2 separate regions of the Homo sapiens genome follow, and region 1 is linked to region 2. The links are contacts of gene promoters, found by promoter capture Hi-C in blood cells and fetal thymus (Javierre and others, 2016). All regions are on one chromosome and are shown on one strand. The core of a region is centred on a gene start or on the middle of the fragment in contact, and the rest is flanking DNA. Distances in the headings are between cores, read along the strand shown.

Evidence for each region. The method cuts DNA at HindIII sites, captures the fragments that hold promoters and counts their contacts. A CHiCAGO score of 5 or more calls a contact.
Region 1: a contact is called between a fragment that was not itself captured here and the fragment with the promoter of ALG1 in region 2, in 1 of 17 cell types (M1 macrophages). The highest score is 7.6, in M1 macrophages.

Annotation. Positions count from the first base shown.
Region 1 is chr16:8,629,550-8,633,471 of GRCh38, forward strand. All of the region lies in intron 3 of METTL22 (methyltransferase 22, Kin17 lysine), which reads left to right. Among named protein-coding and RNA genes, the nearest start is that of METTL22, 9.8 kb to the left of the region's middle. The HindIII fragment of the contact is 4,270 bases long and covers 1-3,468 here.
Region 2 is chr16:5,069,505-5,073,095 of GRCh38, forward strand. ALG1 (ALG1 chitobiosyldiphosphodolichol beta-mannosyltransferase) reads left to right here and starts at 2,339. Exons shown (of 13, transcript NM_019109.5): 1 at 2,339-2,553; 2 at 3,447-3,524. The coding sequence starts at 2,346. RefSeq lists enhancers at 2,369-2,428, 2,459-2,568, 2,739-2,798. The HindIII fragment of the contact is 10,202 bases long and covers 304-3,591 here.

The DNA of each region.
Region 1 (3,922 bases), core at 84-2,583, 3.6 Mb after region 2:
GGCAGAGGGAGAGGGATGTAAATGAAAATGAATGGGGCGTGGACCAGTCAGATGGACTGGGAGCTGGGAGCTAGAAGCCAGGTAAGAAAGGGGAGTGATGAAGTGGCGGGAAAAGTGGGACAGGAGAGAGGTTTGGACAGATACTCAGAGGTGGGATCAAAGAGGAACTGCTACCCAGGTATGGGGGCAGAGCAGAGGGGTTTGCTGACTCTAGGATTTGAAATCTAGGGACCTGGCACTCTAGAAACACCGGGAGCAGTAGGGAGCTGGGCCAGGAAGTGATCGGTCCTGGTTAAGCACCTATCGTGTTTTGGATATCTTCACTAGTATCGAGTGGCCTAGTCTGCACAACCCCTCCTGAGGGGGTGCATGGATGAGGAAGTGAAAGGCCTAGCGCCATGCTGCTTGGTGGTGGTGAGCGAGCTTCGAATCCACACAGTGTCCACACCAGGGCTTTGCCTCCCCCTGGCGCTGCTCATTTGGGGAGCGGAGCTGTGATTTGAGGCCGTTCATTGAGATCCAGGGTCCCCGATGGTGTCTTGAGTTCCCAGGGAAAGGCCTCCCCCAGCACTGGCCTTTGGTCAGAGAATGGGGGTCAGTGGGTCACTCTCAAAAACAGACAAAACAGCAGCTCTGTATCTATCTGCTCAGCAAACAGTTACTAAGCGCCTCCACGGTGGTACCAAGCAGCCTCTGTTCTAGACTGTCCCAGAGAGGGCAACGTGGAACTCATACCAGAACCCAGTTCCATGTATCCCATGGGTGACCTCTGCCCTCATGGCCTCTGCAGATAGGGATGAGTATTCCCATTTCACAGAGGAAGAGACTGAGGCTCAGCGAGGTTGAGGAACTTGCTGGGGTCACACAGCTAGTCAGTGGCAGAGCTGAGACTTGTACCTAGGTCTGTCTGACGCCACAGCCTGTGCTGTCATTCCACATCATGGGGGCAGAGCTTTCGAAAGAGGCTTGGAAAGTCCTGCTTCTCAGGGGGGCCGACGATGGCTCATTTCCCTCTGAGCCCTCACTGTTATTAGCCTCCCCAAGCTGGGGAGCAAACCTGTCAGTTACTCCACAGTGAATTGTTGTGTCTGTAGTGAATGTTCTGGGAATTTACCATTGTATGAGCTAAGAACAAAGTCCCTCGGGAAGAGGCTGGCCTGTGACCAGCTTCCCCTCCTGCCCTGTTCCGGTGACCTCACGGTGAGGCCCCCTTGTCTGTATACCTGGAAGTTCACTTTTTCAGCTGTCAGTCACTCACTACCTGCCCTGACGGAGGAGAGTGGAATGGTAGCTAATGCATGAACCTAGGTAGTAATTCGTGATTATTTCAAACTGGCTAGAGCACTTTCATCTGCAAAACTTGATCTAATCCTGCAGGGCTGGATTTTGAGCCCAGCTCCATCTTCACAAGCCAGGTGACCAGAGACAAATGTCTTACCCACTCAGAACCACATGGTCAGAACCACGTGATCAGGGGAACCACTGTCCCTGGGTTTTAGTGATAATTTATTGAAACATGCCCAGTGAGCGCCAGGAGCAGGGCCTGGCGCAGAGTTGATGGTAAGCAGACGTCATTCGCCTCACAACCCTTTTCCTCTGACCCGTAAATCAACCCATTTTTTTCAAGTTATAGACCCATTTGAGAAACTGGTTTTTCTAAAGAAAAAGAAAAATAGGTGTTTTCTTAACTATTCCAAGGGATTGACAAAACCTTAAAAAGTTTATCCAGGGATCTGCCAGGAATCCACAGACCCAGGATTCAAAAGAAATTATGTTCAATTCCCCCACTGTAGAAATAAAGTGAGACCCCAAGAGAACTCGAGAAAGGCAGGGCTGGAACTCAGGCCGTCAGATTCTGAGTCCCGTGCCTTCCTGCTGGAGAATCGGGCAAGTCGCTTAGCCTCTCTGAGTTCAGTTTCCTTGTCTGTACAAGGGGTACAACCTCCTCCAGTTGTAAGGAATTCAGAGAGACAGCACATACAAAGCTCTTAGCGTAATGCCTGGCACGGATTCAGTGTTCCGTAAATGTAAGCCTCTGTCCTGGGGACTGGCCCAAGCTGGGAGGAGGGAGACTGGCTGACGAACAGTCTAGGTTCCTGCAGGTCTAGAGACCCAGTTTGCAAATGAGATAAGACGTAATTCTAGAATCTGATAAGGACAGGTGAGATTCTAACACTGTCTCATCCCATTGCTAGCCCTAGAGTTTCTCATGGGGATAGTTCCTCAGGCTGGTCTTTTATGTTCTCATGATACCTTTGGGATTATTTAAATATAAACTCTGACTTTTCACAGGAGTGGGAGCCCCAAGATGGCCCTGGGTAGGGAGGTCCCTAAGTCACCTGGGCCTCCACCCCTAGACTGAATCCTTCTTCCTCACCCCTATGCAGCCACCTGGACCGCGCCCGGCCCAGGGCTGACATACTGGGCATTTGTTGTGATCTCTGACTATCCTGATGAGTCATGAAGAAGCATATTTACCCATTCGAACACTAGCAAGTGCCTGAAACGGGGCAGGGGTCGGGTAGACCTCGGAATCTCTGCACTCCGGAGTCGAGGATGTCAGACACAAGAAAGGAGAGTGCCCTTAAGGTCGGCCACACTCAGCTTCCTGGGGAATTCATTCTGGCTTTTTCCATCTGGCCCCAGGGAGTTGCACAGCATCCGCTTCTTCCTTTGATCCATCCCTGAGCCTCTTGTTCTCTCCCTTATCAATTCGCCCTGGTGTTTTCTCGTGTTATCAGCATCAGCAGAAAGCACATCTTAGATCAGTTCTTGGTCAGACTCCCAAATGACTTCATTTTAAATCCTCTTTTGTTTCTATTTGGCTTTAGAAAAATATGGGTCTCACTTTGCACTTCGTTACCCAGGCTGGTCTCAAACTCCTGGCTTCAGGCGATCCTCCTGCTTTAGCCTTCCAAAGTGCTGGGATTATAGGTGTGAGCCACTACCCGGCCATCTCGACACATTTTGATCTAATTAGATGTTTTTTTCTCAGACTATGACCCTGGGCTGGTCATGTCCCCCTTCTGGGCTTCAGTGATCTCCACCTGTGCAAGGGCTGGGGTCCTTGACCACCTCAATGGTTCTCAGATGTCTGCCGAGCCTGTGCTCTCTCAGAAGCGCTGTCTGGTTAAACACTGTTACAGCCTTAGAAATGAGGGATGAGGCTACTTCTGCATTTTGCAAAAGAGGAAACTGTAGCTCTGTCTCCAAGAAGTTAAGTGACTTGTCACCCAGCTAGGAAATGACAAAACTGGGTTGTCATACAGGTCTCTGACCTCAGAGTCCTCATTCTCCCTCAAGGGAAGCTAGCCACCCATTGAGGACAGCTGGGAGGCAGAACTTACGTCCACGAGACCCCTGGAAGGAAGTGACCAATCACATAGGACCAAGATCACTATGAGAAGGTTCCCCTGGCAGCAGGAACCCTTAGGACAGCTGGGGTTAGGGAGCAGATGGCAAGGAGGAAGCTTTCCCAGGCCAATGGAGGGAGAGGAGAGGAGAGGAGGCTACGAGCCACACCCAGGAGATGGCATGGGTGGGACTGGGGAAGAGGAACTGGGCAGGGACGCTGACACAGAGGGCCTGGGGTCTGTAGACCACAGACACCCCTTCCCCTCCACGCACAAGCACACAAGCCTTCAGCCTGCCCAGCGAGTCCCTGTCCCTTTCATCCTGGGAGGCTCTGCCCCAGGCTTTTTAAACCGTGTCCCTGGCATGGTTCAGATTCTACATCTCCCTTCCCCAAGCAGGCTGAAGAGCTAGAAAAGGCCGGGCACGGTGGCTCACACCTATGATCCCACTTTGGGAGGCCAAAGCAGTGTATCACTTGAGCCCAAGGGTTTGAAACCAGCCCTGGCAACATGCTGAGACCCTATCTCTACAAAAACTACAAAACTAAAAAAATTTAGCCTGGCATGGA
Region 2 (3,591 bases), core at 1,089-3,588:
GCACACGCCACCACCATTTTTTGGGTATTCTTTGTAGAGATGGGGTTTCACTATGGTGCCCAGGCTGGTCTTGAACTCCTGGGCTCAAGTGATCCTTCCGCCTCAGCGTCCCAAAGTGCTGGGATTACAGGCATGAGCCACTGCTTTCAGCCTTCATAAAATTTTAATACTGCAGATATACTGCATGCTTGTGTATTGTATCATTATCTGTGCTTTATACATAAAAAGGGTAAGGATGTTTTGCTCCCCAAGAGCCATTTTTGCCCCCTTGGGAGCACCACTGGGAACAGAGGTTCTAGGGGAAGCTTGTCATTGTCATTACTTCTGTTAATCCTTGATCACCCCTCAAGTGGGTGCTCAGTCAACTTGAACAAAATCTGAGGCTCCAAGGGAGATTGAGTGACTTATCCATATATCCTCTTGATTGTTGGAAAGACTGGATCTCATGTGGAATGGATGCCAAGTGAGAAAGCCGGACAGGTGGGCTGGCCCAGCTATGAAACCGCCCCCCTGCTGGGGATGGCTCCGTCCCCTCTCTCCAGGAGACACCACGGCAACTCCCTCCCCGACGGAGGTTCACCTACCAGAGGGAGGCATCTACTTTTGGTTTGTCATCACCATAGTCTTTATCCTCTTAGCTCATCAGAGCAGGACAGGCTCTCAAAGACTTGAAGTTCCCCTCCCTTAATTCACAGACGAAGAAAGCAAATTGATGGGGAGTGACTCGCCCGAGGTGGAGCAGGAAAGCCAGGAGTCCTGAGGCTGAGGTCCCAGATCCCTACCTGTCCCATTACAGAGCGTCGACAGAGTTGGGCAGGCGATGTGTCACAGGCCTCCACCCCAGCACACGCAACCTGGAGGCAGGGGCCTCGCTGGGAACTGGAGGATAAATGCCGCTGCCAGCATGTTTGTATGCCCATCCCTGCTGTCTGCAGATACTTACTCGTCCTTCCTTTCCTTCTGAAAGCTCGGGTTTCAAGGTCTGGCTTAAGGCGTGAGCTGTCCCTTCTGAATCCATAGAAAGGGAGTGATGGGGCAATTGTGAAAAGCAGATGCAAAGTGTGCCAAGCCCTGAGCTGAGCCCAGGGACACTGGGGAGCCACATCCATGTGGGCTACCCTGTCCCGTGGGTGCTGCCTGTGGTCCTCATCAGGGGAGGAGTCTTGTTTGTTTGTTGAATACGGTCTGGGTGGTGGCTCTCCAGGTTCTGCGGCAGCTCCCAAGTGGAGGCAATGGGGTAGCATCACCAGTGAGCTCTTGGTGTTTCTCTGCAAGGGACCGCTTTCAAAGAAAAAAGGTCATGATACGGTTTGGCTGTGTCCCCACCCAAATCTCATCTTGAATTCCCATGTGTTGTGTGGAAGGGACCCAGTGGGAGGTAACTGAATCATGGGGTCAGGTGTTTCCCGTGCCGTTCTCGTGATAGTGAATAAGCCTCACGAGACCTGATTGTTTTATAAAAAGGAGTTTTCCTGCAGAAGCTCTCTTTTTGCCTGCTGCCATCTATGTAAGAGGTGACTTGCTCCTCCTTGCCTTCTGCCATGATGGTGAGGCCTTCCCAGCCATGTGGACCTGTAAGTCCATGAAACCTCTTTCTTATGTAAAGTGCTCAGTCTCGGGTATGTCTTTATCAGCAGCATGAAAACGGACTAATACAGGCCATCGCAGAGACACACATTAAACTCTCACTATGGCTACTTTGGGAGGTGAAATTGGAGGGTCACTGTGGAAATTTCCTTTCTAGCCATTGATACTTAAGCAAAATCATGATGGTGTTTACTTCCTTGTTTGTCCTTCCCCCTCTCTACCTTTTAAATGTTTTATTAAGTGTGATGTACACCCTGGAAAATGGGCAGGTAATCTGCTGCTTGAGGTACCGCCCCAAATGCAGCACACCCACATTACCAGCACCAGATCCAGAAGCAGAACCCACCAGCCCCTAACTTCTAACAGCGAGGACTGGTTTTTATTTACATAGACGGAACTCTACAATTCGTACTCGTCAGCATCTGGCTCCTTTATCAATGTTAGGATGAAATTTATCCAAATTCTTGTGTCACTATATTTTGAAATTATCTTTGAATCCTGAAGAGAGTTCTTAGATCCCAATACAGTAACAGCTTTACTTTAGTCGGGGAAATACACTGGTGTGTAGGGAATCTGGTGTATGTGCGTGTGTCCTACTACTACTAATTCTTGGCCCCGAGGGGCTCCTGGGGGTTCCCCGGGCCCCTGTTAGGGAACCGCGTCCACTTCTCGCCCTCTCGGCCCACTTCGGAGGCTCGGTCTGCGGCTGCGCACAGCGCGAGGAAGCGCGGTCACGTGACTGCTGCGGGCCAGCCAAGATGGCGGCCTCATGCTTGGTCCTGCTGGCGCTGTGTCTGCTGCTGCCGCTGCTGCTGCTGGGAGGATGGAAGCGCTGGCGCCGGGGGCGGGCGGCCCGGCATGTAGTAGCGGTGGTGCTGGGCGACGTGGGCCGCAGCCCCCGTATGCAGTACCACGCGCTGTCGTTGGCCATGCACGGCTTCTCGGTGACCCTCCTGGGGTTCTGCAGTGAGTGGCCAAGGGTCTGGGAGGGACGATGCTCTCTCAGCCGTTGATCCTCGGTTCTAACCGCCCCGGGGAGTCGAGGCGGAAGTGCTCCTTTAGTCGCCGCCTTTGGGCAGCTCTCCGAGATTAGACGAGCGGTTCTGCCCCAGCCTTTCCTGGGTGGGTCTCTAGGTATAGCCGGCGTTAATCTTGCCACGTGTCAGAAGTGTGTTAAGTGAATCCATTGCGTGGTCTCACGTAATTCTCCTAGTAAGTGGAACCCAGGTGCGTGGAACTCCAGGGCTAGTGCTGGTAGCTACGTCCCTGTGCAGCTACCCTTGTCAGGCTATGTCTGAGCTGACAGGATATTTCATTCCTCATCCCTCAACGCAGAGCTCTGCAGACAGATGTTTTCATTTGTTCTTCATGTCCAGCTTTTCCCCACAGTGTGCAGGGCAGCGGTGTCTGCTCCCTCATTATTCTCCACGTTGGTATCTTGAGAGGGTAGCTCAACCCCATCTCAGGAAGAAGTGGGAACAGCACTAGTTGCCTTTAATCCCTGTTTAGAATCTGCTATCCTAGGGTGATGGGGTAGAGTGGGACTTCCTAGGGATGGCTCTGTGGTGGGAAAATTCCACTATCCAGACAATCTAGATTAGTTTAATTGAGCACCTACTGTTTGCCAGGCATCATGTTAAGTGAAGGTAGGTAAGATTCAGGCCCTATCTCTGTGTGCCTCCTAGAGCAATCTGAACAAGAATTGGCCGCATTCTCTGTTCTGGCTAGTGAGGAGCAGAGAGAGGTTTTGAAATATCTTACTTTCCAAAACACTGTCCGTGATTCAGCCTGAGTTGGGAGATTATCTGACTTTAGATTGCTGCTTCTGGTACATTAAAGGGATCATTCTCATTTTTCAGACTCCAAACCCCATGATGAGCTCTTGCAGAACAACAGAATTCAGATTGTGGGGTTGACAGAACTTCAGAGTCTTGCAGGTAGGATGCCGTCAACTCCAGAATCCTCTGAATCCATGGGCTGGGGGCAGGGGGTGTTCGTTTGAAA